Regions from separate parts of the Homo sapiens genome. Here all the other regions are linked to region 3. The links are contacts of gene promoters, found by promoter capture Hi-C in human tissues and cell types (Jung and others, 2019). All regions are on one chromosome and are shown on one strand. Each heading gives the region's core, a stretch centred on a gene start or on the middle of the fragment in contact. The rest is flanking DNA. Distances are from core to core; before and after follow the strand shown. Region 1 has its middle 59 kb from the start of FENDRR. Region 2 overlaps MTHFSD (methenyltetrahydrofolate synthetase domain containing). Region 3 holds the start of FOXF1 (forkhead box F1).

Region 1 (4,736 bases), core at 758-3,257, 61 kb before region 3:
CTCCCAGGAAAACAGAAAGACTGGGCCCCTAGACCAGTGAGGAACCTAGGAAGTCTTCCCAGAGGAGGTGAGGCAGGGACCTGAAAGGTGGGCAAGCAGCAGTTGGCTGGACAGGGTGGGACCTGGGGGGCAGTCTCAGCAGAGGGAGCCATCCGTGCCACGCTCAGGAGGCGGGAGAAGGGGTGCACATTCTGCAAAAGGCTGAAATTCCAGGGCAACAGAGTCCAACCAGCCTCCGCCACAGTATCTTAGGTTTCTTAAGCTCCCAGTCCACTGCATTGCAAGCTTTAATAACTACAATCGTTTCTACTTTATGCAATGAACCCAGACTAGTAAGTTGTGTAACTTCCGCCCCTGGGGTCCTCGATTTGTTCATGTAATTCCACGGAACTCATTATCCTGAAATGGACTCTGTGTCTAGATCATGGATCCATAAACTTTTTCTGCAAAAGGCCACATAGTAAATAGTTTAGCCCTTGTGGGGCACACAGTCACTGACACAATTACTCAACTCCTTCTTTGTAGCAGAAAAGCAGCCAGAGACAAGACGTAAATAAATGTACATGGCTATGTTCCAATAAAGCTTTATTTACAGAAACAGGTGGTAGGCTGGATTGGGCCTGTATTTTGCCAGTCCCTGGTCTAGACTGAAGTTTGTTCTGGTGAGAACTTGAGTCCCTGCTTCTGCCACTTACTCTGAACATGCCGTTTAAGCTCTCTGAAGCTGTTTCCTCTTCTGCAAAATATTTTGGGTTTAGTGAGTCACCATACTGTCTCTGTCACAGCTACTCGACTCTGCCATCGTAGAGTTGGACTAAACCCCTTCATCACCCAGGGCGGGAGCAAACGAGATGAAAAGTGTGAACATTGTGCAGCACTAGGATTTCGAGATGCGGACCTGGCTTTAAAGTGCATACACTTTAGGGACAGTGCACACTTTCTAGTTATGACCTCGAGCTACACATCCCTGAGGCTCAGGCTCCTCTAGCATAAAATGGGAATGAGAACATTGACCACATGACGTTGTAGGAGGATTCAATGAGAGTGCACGGCCCCAGATTATTGGGGGATGATTCCCTGAGGCCACTTATGGGGGTCACAGCGGACGCCCTGTTTGGGGGAGTCAACTAGGTGCTGGGAAGTCCATTGGAAGGTGTATGAGCCACCTCCCTAAGTGGGGGTGCAGCGGGTTGAGCTCGGACTCTCTGGGCAACCCCTCTGGGTAGATCTATAATTCTTTGAGGACTTAGTCTCTGTTTATCTAATTTCCTTGGTTCTAAGATGCATATTGAGCACCTTTTAACCTTTTTGAAATCCAAGTGCCTCTACCCATCAATACTTGCATTTGATGCGATCACATTTCTTCACTTTCACCACAATAAAAGCAGTCATCAAACTGATGGAAAAACAGAGATACGGAGGCATACTGACCCCAGATCTAACAGGGACATCATGCTCGAGGTAGCCCCACGTCTGGGCTGTCCGGCTGTGGTTGCTGGCTGAGGATAGAGGCCCCCAGGCCCTGAGGCCCCTCTGTGCTTGTTTCACCCCGTGGTCAGAGTTCAGGATCAGGCTGTGGCCAAGGAGGAGGGACGGATGCTGGGCTGCGAGGAGCCTTCACACCCAGACACCCGCTTCCTCCACGGGGCAGGCGCTTCCTCTCTTTGAGCACGCAGACGTCCCCCTCCTCTGCTAAGGAAGACAGGGTGCCAACCCCCGCGTGGAGAATGGGACATTCCTTTAAGACAAGCCAGCTGTTTTACAGCTCTGCTCTGGAGGCCTTCAAAAACATAAAGGCTCAAGAATCAAAGGCTTCCTGTTATAAATTCACTTCTACACCTCAGGTACTTTGTGGGTTGGGGAGGCAAAAACAAGATTTAGTGAAAATTGGTAGAAAATGCTCTATAAATACCCTTCTTGTGGGAGGAGAACCCGTGGGCTGGTCTCGGAGGGCGGGTGGAGAACGGCTTTGTGTTTGCCTAGGATGTTTGGAAGACATTTTGCACTTTCTGACATTAGTATTTTTGTTGTTCTAAAATCTTCGGTGCCTTCAAACTTTAATTTGGGGAGTTATTGAGAATCATGTGCATGAAAATAAATTTAAAATGTATAATGGATCTTTATAATCGACATCCTCATCTTAAAGATGAGAGAAACAAGACCCAAGATGCTGAAGGGCAGGCTTCGGCCACCAGCTGGGCACAGACAAGACAAGAAGATCTAGAGATTCTCCTCAAAGGCTCCAGAAAATAGAGCCAGGCTCGTGGGCACAGCAGCACAGCGCTGATTACAGAAGTGATGCATGTTGATTGGAGAAAATTCAGAATATTTCTAAGAGCCCAAAGAGGAAAATCAGAACTGCCTGGGACACAGCATCTACAGACAAGCCCTATGGGGTTTGACGTCTGCTCTTTTTTCTGGGCCTGGACTGATCTAGTTGATGATACAGAACTAGACACAGAATGGAGGTTGTCACGATGGCTCGCACACACCTGACTATACTTGCAGCCCAGGTACCCAGTCCCCCACCCAGCTCCGGCCCCAAATGCCTCTGCTCCTCACCTAAGGGTGTCTCCTGACCAGGGGAATCTGATCAGCGCACACACAGGACAGCCCAGCAGAAGCAGGGACTGGATATCCCTGAGGGCAGCTCTCATTCCTGCAGTGAGGAGTCAGTGAGTAAAAACCTGAGGTAGTCACTGTCAGTACTCCCTGTCCCAATTCCTCTCAGCCTTACCTCTTCTGTGAACGGGGAACCAAACTCCAATTCCGACTCCTGCATTTCATGGCCTGTGGGCTCTCTCTGCCTCCAGAGACCCCATTCCCACCTGTGAGCCAGACCAGAAATAGCAAGGAACTAACACCCACCCCAAGGAGGTGACCTCAAACATTGATTCATAGGAGCTGGGGTATCAATACCTCAACTCCCTTCCCCACCAGGTGGGATAATTCTGTTCTGGGAGGCTCCCAGAGTTTCCCTAGCAGGATTAAGCCACAGCCACCCACAGACATAACCTGCTCAATACAAACCCTTTATGGGCTGCTGTCCCTGCTGTTTTGCACACCAATCTCCAAAATGCATTGCTTCTGTCATCAGGGCTGCCCTGCTGTGCCCATGAGCCTGGTGTCTGGACCACCTCCTAAATATTATCTCTGCATCTCAGGGCCAGTTTCTGGGGGACCCCAAACTGAGAGAAAAACCCGTAGTGAGGCAAGGCTGGGGCATGTTTCCCAGGGTCCCCCCAGAGCTTTCCAGTGGGACTAAGCCCATGTGGCCCACTGTGTTCGTCCTCTTGTCAATGCTCCTGACTCAGCTTGTCCCCTCTCCTGCCTCGCTTTCCCCACTGCATCTCTTGGGATCATATCCCAAATAACCCCCTGCACCAAGTCCCTGTGGGATCTGCTCTGAGGGGAATTCAAACTTAGATGGATATTTATATAAATAGAAATAGATGGATATAGATGCTAAGATGGTTATGGATACAGACACAGCTATCAATGGATAAGATATAGACATAGATACAGATATGGATAGATAGATACGGATATAGGTACAGGCATAGATGGATGATGTAGACAGAGATAGAGGTACAGGTATGGATGGATATAGATATAGACACAGATACAGATATGGATAGTTAGAGATGGATATAGGTACTGGCATATATGGATGATGTAGACAGAGATGGAGGCATGTAGGGATATAAATATAGACAGATACAGATATGGGTAGATGGATATGAATCTAGGTACAGGCATAGATGGATGATATAGTCTGAGAGAGATAGAGGTATAGTTGGGTATAGACATAGATAGAGTTATAAGTTCATGGACACAAGTGGATTTGGATATGAACATAGAGCGGTAAATCGTAGTACCAATTGTTTTCAGCTGATGTTCATCCTAATTGGTCTACGCCCACATCTGTTATTAAATATGTTTAATCTCTCCCTTGGGTGTGTCTATAATGAGATACACAGATGAGCTCTCTGGGTTTCTGGAGCCCTGATGTCTGAGCAGGAGCCCAGCCCTGCTACTCCCAATATCCTTAAGTGAGCCACTTCATCTCTTTTCCTTGGCACATCACCTATTAAATGACTGGAGAACTCACCAATCATTTATAATCATATCTATGTCTACATCCTAAGTTTCTTGCATGTAGAAAGTCCTTAAATCCACCAGGCTCCCTTGTGGATTTAAGGACTTTATATGTGCCAGAAACCTTAGGACCTGACCTGTAGGAAGTGCTCAATAAATGTTAACTATTATCATTGTTATTACTACTCCTCTGTAGTTGTGATAAATGTAGCCCTCATTAAATACAGACTAACCACCAACTTAGTGGCCAACCCAGCCAGCTCCAAAAGCACTTGCGAGGAAGAATGAAAATCCATCTGGATTGTGAAAGAAACATCCATTTTACAGATAGTGCTCCTGAGGCTTTGTGAAAGACATTGCACATACAAGATTCGGGGTCAAGTGGGACAAAAACCTCATCTTGGTGTGTGCAGGATTCAGCTCCTGCCTTCATTCTGCCCCTCGCAAGACTTGCATGGCTGTGGGTTCTTTTTCCATCTATAAACCTGGGACTTCATTTCCCATTTGATTGTTGGCTCCTGAAACTCAACACAAGCCAGGATGACATGAACACCTCCTGTGCCAAGGAGACAGCTGGAACACATGCTCTGTGTTGAGTCAGCTGGCCCAGTGACCGCATGGCCCTGTGGTTCTGTGGG
Region 2 (4,548 bases), core at 1,859-4,358, 36 kb after region 3:
TACTGAGGTGCAGTCACGTGAGAACACCGTGCAGTTCCTCAACACGGGCCCAGGAGGCCAGCCCGCAGTGCTGACAGGAAGGGGCTCTAAGACACAGTCTCCAGCAAGGCACGGAGCTCTGTGTGTGCCACCGTCCCTTCTGTGAATGCAGAAAAGGGATATCTATACATCTATACCTAAAAACTATAAGACAGGGGTTCCCAACTCCTGGGCCACAGACCAGTACTAGTCCATGGCCTGTGAGGAACCGGGCCACACAGCACGAGGTGGGCAGTGAGAGAGTGAAGCTTCATCTGTATTTACAGCCGCTCCCCATCACTCTCATTACTGTCTGAGCTCCGCCTCCTGTCCGATCAGCTGCGGCATTAGATTCTCACAGGCGTGCAAACCCTCGTATGAATGGTGCATGCCAGGGATCTAGGTTGCGTGCTCCTGATGAGAATCTAATGCCTGCTGATCTGTCACTGTCTCTTATCACCCTGAGATGGGACCGTCTAGTTGCAGGAAAACAAGCTGAGGGCTCCCACTGATTCTTTATTATGAGTTGTATAATTACTCTGTGATTTATTATGATGTAGGAATAACAGAACTAAAGTACACAATAAATGTAATGTGCTTAAATTATCCTGAAACCGTCCCCTCCCTGGTCCATGGAAAAATTGTCTTCCATGAAACCGGTCCCTGGTGCCAAAAAGTTGGGGACCACTGCTATAACATATCTGTGTCTCGGCAAAAGAAACTATCATCAGAGTGAACAGAGAACCTACAAAATAGGAGACAATTTTGCAAACTATCTGTCTGACAAAGGTCTAATATCCAGAGTCTGTAAGAAACTGAAACAAATTTACAAGAAAAAAACCCAAACAACCCCAATAAAAAGTGGGCAAAGGGCATGAACAGACACTCCTCGAAAGAAGACATTTATACAGCCAACAAACATGGAAAAAAGCTCAACATCACTGATCATTAGAGGAATGCAAATCAAAACCACAATGAGACACCACCTCATGCCAGTCAGAATGGCCACAGATGCTGGCAAGGCTGTGGAGAGATAGGAACACTTTTACACTGTTGGTGGGAAGGTAAATTAATTCAACCATTATGGAAGACAGTGTGCTGATTTCTAGAGGACCTAGAACCAGAAATACCATTTGACCTAGCAATCCCATTACTGGGTATATACCCAAAGGATTATAAATCATTCTACTCTAAAGACACGTGCACATGTAGGTTCACTGTAGCACTATTCACAATAACAATGACATGGAATCAACCCAAATGCTCATCAACGATAGGCTGGATAAAGAAAATGTGGTACATATACACTATGGAATACTATGCAGCCATAAAAAGGAATGAGAGCATGTCCTTTGCAGGGACATGGATGGAGCTGGAAAACATTATCCTCAGCAAACGAACGCAGGAACAGAAAACCTAGCACTGCATGTTCTCACTCGTAAGTGGGAGCTGAACAATGAGAACATATGGACACAGGGAGGGGAACAACACATACTGGGGCCTGTCAGGGCAGGGGCAGTGGGAGGGAGAACATCAGGTAAAATAGCTAATGCATGCTGGGCTTAATACTTAGGTGATGGGTTGGTAGGTGCAGCAAATCACCATGGAACACGTTTACCTATGTAACAAACCTGCACATCCTACACATGTATCCCGGAACTTAAAAAAAAAAGATATCTGTGTCTCACACGCATGCTACTATGTACAACGTCTACACTAGGAACTCCTAATGGGGCAGCTGGGAAGGAACAGGGAAGACTTATGGTGCAGCTTTCTGTGCTGTTCAATTTTCTAAGCAGACACATGGTTACTTTACTACTTTACACAGGGGGTTAGCTAAACGATGAAACTTACGAAGTGTTACTTTCTTCTTTATACATCCCTGAACCTGATGATATTTTCCAAGAGGGGACCTTTGCTGATTTCCCACCACCAAGAGCCCAAGTCCCATCATCTGGCCTCAAGGCTGCTGAGAAGGGGCCGCAACCTAGTAAAGGGCCTGCTGCCTGAGGACCCTTCAGTCCCCTCTGCCTGGACTGTGGCCGGCATGCAGGAGCCAGCCCTGAGGCCGCTACTGAGGAGATGCCCCCTCCAGGCTGGCACGTCCCTCCTCAGACTCCCCTTCCCCCTCCCGTCGGTCCTGACTTGTGTCCAGCACTGAGCACGTCACGTCCTGTCCTGGTCCAGCTCTCGTGTCTGGCCCACCCACACACCATGCACTTAAAGACCACCCAGTGCCTGCCTGGCACACAGCAGGTGTAGCAGGTATACCAGAACAGTGCGCTCCTGAGTCCCCAGCCCCGATGACACAGACGAAGCACCAGAAACTGGGAATGCACTGAAAGCAAAGAATAAAGAACAATGTCCCCACATCAGCTCCAGTGGTGGCTGGGAAAAGAGGGCACCCTGAAGCTGGAGACAGCAAGAGGTGGTGTGGTGACCCTGCCCTCTTAGCAAGGGCCCCCTGGCCTTGTGGACCGAGAGCAGCCTGCCTCACATGCAGCGTGGCAAAGCACCAGGCCTGAGAAGAAGTCTCGGACACACCACGTTGTTCAGGAGTCTCGGACACACCACGTTGTTCAGGAGTCTCGGACACACCGTGTTGTTCAAGAGTCTGCTGCTTCATAATAAAAACAAAGCTTGGAACCTACTGTTTTTCCATTTGCTGGAGTCCCTCCAAAACCAACTATTTACTGACATACTGAAAAGAAATTAAGCTCCAGCTCACTCAAGAACAGAGAGAAAACCTTTCACCACCTGAACAGAGAGTTATCTCACTTTGTTTTTCCTGCTAAGAAAAGTGAAAATGCTGTACACATGTTGGGCTGGGGCCAGAAGCGGGTGGGCTGAGCCAATTCTTCACCTCTGAAAAATGCAGCGGCTTCGGAGACCAGGTAAGCGCATCCAGAAAGCAGACACCACTGGCGACTTTTGAAAGACAAACAGCCTGGCACGCAGCCGCCTTCAGGCAGAGCTGTCACACTCAAGGGTTCCCATCTGCTAGTCTTACCTTTTTCAGAAACGGCGACGGATCCCACCACAACTAAATCCACGAGGACTCTGGAGTCCAAGCCTATGGGGACACTGTAGTTCCTCACACCCTGCACACAGAGATACGGATTGGAAAACTTCAACTCCAGCTGCTTCCTCATTTTATAATTCATGATCAAAGTGCACTCAGGGTTTGAATCAACCTCTTGGACAAAACAGATGCAGGCACACGCAACACCGGAGATGTGGCGTTTCAGGAGAAGCCGCATTCCAGAAACCGCTTTAGGGCACAGTTTCCCCAGTCTCTTTCCCAGAAAGGCGGCCAAGAGGAACTCACAGCACAAATTCATAGGCTGCCAACTTCATAACATTTAACAAATCGTTTTTCCCCATAAGGCAGAAGAGCACAGTGGTGAAAACACAGGGGCAGAGTCCCAGGGAACTGGGTTCAGAGCCTCTGAGCCACAGGTCCCCAGCAGGCTGGAGCTCTCTGAGCCTCAGTTTCTTCAGCTGTAAGACAGGGACACCACCCTCTGCCTCGTCGGACCAGTGTTGGAATTAAATAACAAAACGTATGCATTTAGCACATAAGACATGGTCAGTAAACACTGTATGACATATTTATTCAATATAAAATCCTGAAGGCCACTATCTTTATGTACAATATACTCGCTTCTAAAAAATTATCCCTTCAACCAAAATGTCCCAAAAGTGTACCGCTTTATACTAATGCAGGCATGCATATAAAGAATAGGGAAGCTGAATATGTTCATGGTTCTCATAACACGGTTTATGTAAGACTCAGGAAAAAGCCATTTTCAGTCCCGTATCCAGCAGTAACTGATCATTCGATGTGGCGGTGGGATCTGCCTGCAGTGCTATGACAAGTTCCGTATGGATCAGTGCATACGGGTGGCTTGGGGGTCTCCCGACAGTCACAGAAGGGGGCTTAGTCCAGGAAACCCTGCACTGCAGGAAACCCTGTGTTCTCATCATCTCGCAGGGTCCACGGGGGCAGGCACTGACCAACTGCAAAGGAAGAGACGGCTTGCATTTGTGAATGCTGACCATCACCATGCTTTCGTCTCAGTTTTCTATCTTTCTTTTTCCTTTGCTCCTTTCTCTCTCTATATATATATTTTTTACTTTATTGTATGTATTTTTAGAAACCATATCAAATTCTATTTTTGGAATAAGCAGGGTGCTAATAAGTAAACAATGAAACGTTCCAGTTTTATACATTAGGCTTAAGTGGCAAATCCCATAAAAAAGCGTATCTTCAATTGTCTTATTTTTTCTTCTCAGTAGATTAAAAATTAAATGACTTGGAGTTTACCTTAAGATTCTTAAAAAAGTCACCAAATTCGACTTAACTGTAAAATACATGACCAATTTTATTATAATGCACCCTAAAGTCATATTTGTACACTTGGTTTTACTAAATTGTGAGGCATTCAAGAAAATCTTAAATATGTAATTATCAGCAATTACTCACTTAGAACTGGTGAGGCAATTTCCAATGGAGCATGTTTTGGAAAT
Region 3 (4,492 bases), core at 1,644-4,143:
CTGGCTTAAGAGCTGTGCAGCCTTCTCTGCTCACCTCTGCTAAGGGCCAGATGTGCTCTGGCAGTCGGCAGTAGCGACCCCTTCCTGGGAACAGAACTTTCCTCCGGAGGCCAGGGTCTCCTCATCTGCAACTGCCATTTGCCACACACACACACACAAAAGTTGGGAGAGAATGTGAGAATGCTTGTGTTCGTGGACGCGTGCGCACGTATGGAGCGGCGGTACCTATGATTATTTGCGCGTGGCGCCTGGCTATGCGTGGGCGAACGCGCAGTGGAGAACATGTGGGCGTGCATGAAGTGTGCACTTAAACCAAAGTGTGCCCTCCCCGTTGGGCAGGCCTGTGTGTTGGTCCAAGGGTTGGGAGCGCCTGAGCTGTGTGAGGGTCGCTGGGAAGGGTGTTTGAGGCCGTGGGCGGTGCGGAGCGTGTCTGTGTGCGCGGAGGCTGAGCTGGTTGTGTGAAGTGGTAGCGGGTCTGCCAGAGAGCGTTTACCTGCGTGAATGCACAACCACACACTACGGGTCACGTCCCACACTCATTCTTTCCCTAGGCGGGCCAGGCTGTCTGCACGCGGAGACCCAGAGAGGCCAGCGGAAGGGCAGCGCGGGAAGGCGGCTCTCTTCTCCCGCGAGCGCAGATCTGGCGGAGGAGGCGGCGACTGCCCGGCAGGCTGCGCCGGCGAGCCCCCCAGCTCCTCTCACCGACGTGCCAGGCGCCCCGAAGGCGACAGGCGTCTCCCGCCGAAAATGAAGGCGTCCGAGCCAGGAAGGTGGGGGCGGGTAGTTAGCGGGAGACAAGGAGTCCGGAGAAAACCGAGAGGCGGGTAGGCTTTGAACGCGCCGCGCCGCGGGCCGTGCTGCGAGCCCGGCACACGCCTCTCGCCCCAGCTCGCGCTGGGGCTTGGCCTCTAGGCTCTTCGCGATGACCCGCGAAAACACCCCTCGCCCCCCTCTTCTCAACTCGGAACCCTGGAGGGAGAGGCCGCGCCCGGCCAGCAGTCGCTGCGAGAGCAGCACTCACCTGGGTCTGTGCGCGCCGCGATGCGCCGGGGCTCCTGCGCTGTCCTGCGCTCCGCTCTCGGCACCACCTTTCGTGGCTCCACCGCCCCCAGCCCGCACCCGAGCGCTGAGGTGGCAAGGGCAGGTCTGCGTGCGAGCCCCCTGCGGGCTGGCAGCCAGGTGCGCGAGGGCCGCCCTTGCCGGCGCTCCCAGCCCGCGCTGTCTGCTCTCAGGAACCTGGCCTGGCGCGCAGTGTCAGAGGCCCCGCGGCGGCGGCAGGCCGAGCCCACAGGGGCATTAGGCCAACTCCCCCCTCCCGCCCTGCGCACGCGGAATTCTCTATTATTATTATTAAAGAATCCCCCAGAACTTGTTTACGTTAAACCCTGTAAACTTCCTGCCAGGGCCTTTGCCATCTCTCGGGAAATCGGAACCTGCGCTTTGAAAACGGGGCCGCGGGGCCAAATAGGCGGGTTTTCAGTGTGTGTTGGGGGTGGGGGAGGGCAACTGAACTACGTGTGAGTTCAGATCCGAGCGTGGCGTGTGTACGCGTGAGTGGGAGTGAGTGCGAACTTAAGCTCCTGTGGGCCTTAAGCTTCCGTGTCAACGAGTGCATTAGTGGGTGCGCACATGCCTGAGCGCCCTCTGCATATGAGTGTGCACACACGCATGGGTGTGTTTACACGTCTGTTTGCGTAATTTACCGGGTTTGCATGTGCATCAAGACATGTATGTGTGTGCTAATGTGTGGACAAGAGCGCGAGGGTGTGCGCGCACGGGTGAGTGACTGAGCACGCCGCTTATTCAGGGGCCTGTGCGGTCTGGGTCGCCTCTGGGCCAGCGGGTTCTCACTCGCCCCCGTCAGGCCCGCGGCGCCCGAGACAAAGCGGCCGCGACTCGTGCTGCGCTTTCGTTTTCCGCCTGCGCTCTGCCCCGGCGGCTGCCCGCCCGCTCGCAAGCTGCTGGGCGAGTCCGAAAAATCCCGGGAGCGGCGCAGTTCTTCCCGGGGCGGGGAGAGTGGGTAGGCGGTCCCTCGCGGGAACTTAGCCGGCCGGCCGCGAGGACCGGAGTCGAGCCGGCTGTGCCTGCGATGGTCACGACCGGGAGGCCGCCGCACTTGCGATTTGCTACAGGGCTGTGCGCGTCGGGGAAGGCCCCGGCCCAGGGAGCGTTTCCCGCCGCGCCGCCCGGGCGGGGAAGGCGGGGTCCAGCGCGCACCGGGGCTGAACCGCGGGCGGAGGGCGCATTAACACTTGCTCGCCAGGTTGGTGGAGGCGGGGCGGATTCTGCTGGCGGCCGCGGGGCGGCGAGAGTGGGGGCTCTTTAAGCGCCCACCAACGCGGGGGCCCGAGGGGGGCAGGGACGGAGGGAGGGAACTCCGGGAGGGTCTTAGGCCGACCCGCGAGACGCAGCCGAGCGGAGATGGAGTGAAGGCTGCCTCGCCCGGAATCTCGGAGCCGAGCGCCGCGGGCGGCGGGGACTCAGGGCTGCTCCCGGCTGGGGCGCACGGCCGTAAGACCTGGAGGTGGTGCCTCCCCCCAAAAAATACCGGCGGGGGTAGCTTCCTCACGGCCTTCGCCCGGGCTGCCCTCGGCCTCAGCTCGGCTCCTTTCCTTGTGGGAGGGCGAGAAAGAAAGAGGGAGGAGAGAGGTGGGGGAGGCGGGAGTTGGAGAGAGAGGGGCTCTGAGCCAACCGCCGGCGGATCCAGCAGCTCCTCGGGGAGGGCGGGCGGGAGCGCGGGGGCGGGCGCGCCGCGGCTCGCTCGGGAGAAGTGGCCGCCGATGACGGCAGAGGTGCAGCCAGCCCCGCGCGCGCAGCCCCCTCCCCTTCGCCCTCCTCCCCCCCGTCGTCCTCTTCCTCCTCCTCCTCCTCCTCCTCCCGGCCCGTCCGCGGCGCAGAGCAGCGGCGGCAGCGGCGGCGGCGGCAGCAGCCACCCGATGTCTTCGGCGCCCGAGAAGCAGCAGCCACCGCACGGCGGCGGCGGCGGCGGCGGCGGGGGAGGCGGCGCGGCCATGGACCCCGCGTCGTCCGGCCCGTCCAAGGCCAAGAAGACCAACGCCGGCATCCGGCGCCCGGAGAAGCCGCCCTATTCCTACATCGCGCTCATCGTCATGGCCATCCAGAGTTCACCCACCAAGCGCCTGACGCTGAGCGAGATCTACCAGTTCCTGCAGAGCCGCTTCCCCTTCTTCCGGGGCTCCTACCAGGGCTGGAAGAACTCCGTGCGCCACAACCTCTCGCTCAACGAGTGCTTCATCAAGCTACCCAAGGGCCTTGGGCGGCCCGGCAAGGGCCACTACTGGACCATCGACCCGGCCAGCGAGTTCATGTTCGAGGAGGGCTCCTTTCGGCGGCGGCCGCGCGGCTTCCGAAGGAAATGCCAGGCGCTCAAGCCCATGTACAGCATGATGAACGGGCTCGGCTTCAACCACCTCCCGGACACCTACGGCTTCCAGGGCTCGGCCGGCGGCCTCTCGTGCCCGCCCAACAGCCTGGCGCTGGAGGGCGGCCTGGGCATGATGAACGGCCACTTGCCGGGCAACGTGGACGGCATGGCCCTGCCCAGCCACTCGGTGCCCCACCTGCCTTCCAACGGCGGCCACTCGTACATGGGCGGCTGCGGCGGCGCGGCGGCCGGCGAGTACCCGCACCACGACAGCTCGGTGCCCGCCTCCCCGCTGCTGCCCACCGGCGCCGGTGGGGTCATGGAGCCGCACGCCGTCTACTCGGGCTCGGCGGCGGCCTGGCCGCCCTCGGCGTCCGCGGCGCTCAACAGCGGCGCCTCTTATATCAAGCAGCAGCCCCTGTCCCCCTGTAACCCCGCGGCCAACCCCCTGTCCGGCAGCCTCTCCACGCACTCCCTGGAGCAGCCGTATCTGCACCAGAACAGCCACAACGCCCCAGCCGAGCTGCAAGGTGAGTGGGGAGGCCGAGGGCGCCCTGGTCCCCGGGAAGTCGAGTCTGAGTGGCAGCGGGACCCAGCTGGGGCGAGCCCCTCCACTTCTGTGGTCGGAACCCCAAGGCTGAGGGGAGGCACCAGCTCCCCAAGGTGTCTCTTGGCCCCACCTCTCCCCCTTCGAAGAGTGACTACCGCTCTTGACCCTAGTTTGGGCCAATCTGTTTCTCTTTCTGTTCGAACTCCAGCTGCCAGCTGCTCCAGGCCTGACCAGGTAGGCTGGTCCTGAGCCAGATGTCCCAGACCCCAGTGCCCTAAGTCCTTTTGTGTCCCTTAAGTCCCCTCACAGCTTGGAAAGATCCTGGGATGGACCCAAGGCTCCCAGCGCTGGCCAGATGGCTGTCCCTCCCTGGTGGTGGCCCTCAGGCTGCCTGGAGGGCTGCCTCTGCCTGGGGCTGGGCGGAACGGAAGGTGTTAGGCCCAAAGCCGCTGGGCCAGCGCTCAGAGGCTCAGCCCCGGCCTTTCAGGGGACCAGACCTGGCAGACCCACAGCTGAGTCCAGGGGCATTTTGTGGTGACTGAGGCAGGAGGGTGCCG

What was found. Contacts are between HindIII fragments. The study calls those that stand out against the background at their distance.
Region 1: a contact is called between a fragment that was not itself captured here and the fragment with the promoter of FOXF1 in region 3, in 2 of the 25 tissues and cell types used here (bladder and pancreas).
Region 2: a contact is called between a fragment that was not itself captured here and the fragment with the promoter of FOXF1 in region 3, in 2 of the 25 tissues and cell types used here (lymphoblastoid cells and pancreas).

Annotation. Positions count from the first base shown.
Region 1 is chr16:86,447,960-86,452,695 of GRCh38, forward strand. No RefSeq gene overlaps it. Among named protein-coding and RNA genes, the nearest start is that of FENDRR, 59 kb to the right of the region's middle. The HindIII fragment of the contact is 3,146 bases long and covers 435-3,580 here.
Region 2 is chr16:86,543,531-86,548,078 of GRCh38, forward strand. MTHFSD (methenyltetrahydrofolate synthetase domain containing) reads right to left here. Exons shown (of 8, transcript NM_001159377.2): 5 at 3,029-3,119. Among named protein-coding and RNA genes, the nearest start is that of MTHFSD, 9.4 kb to the right of the region's middle. The HindIII fragment of the contact is 8,046 bases long and covers 1-4,548 here.
Region 3 is chr16:86,507,634-86,512,125 of GRCh38, forward strand. It overlaps FOXF1 (forkhead box F1), which reads left to right and starts at 2,894. Exons shown (of 2, transcript NM_001451.3): 1 at 2,894-3,915. The coding sequence starts at 2,937. FENDRR (FOXF1 adjacent non-coding developmental regulatory RNA) reads right to left here and starts at 1,227. Exons shown (of 4, transcript NR_033925.1): 1 at 1,022-1,227. RefSeq lists an enhancer at 4,387-4,492. The HindIII fragment of the contact is 9,827 bases long and covers 1-4,492 here.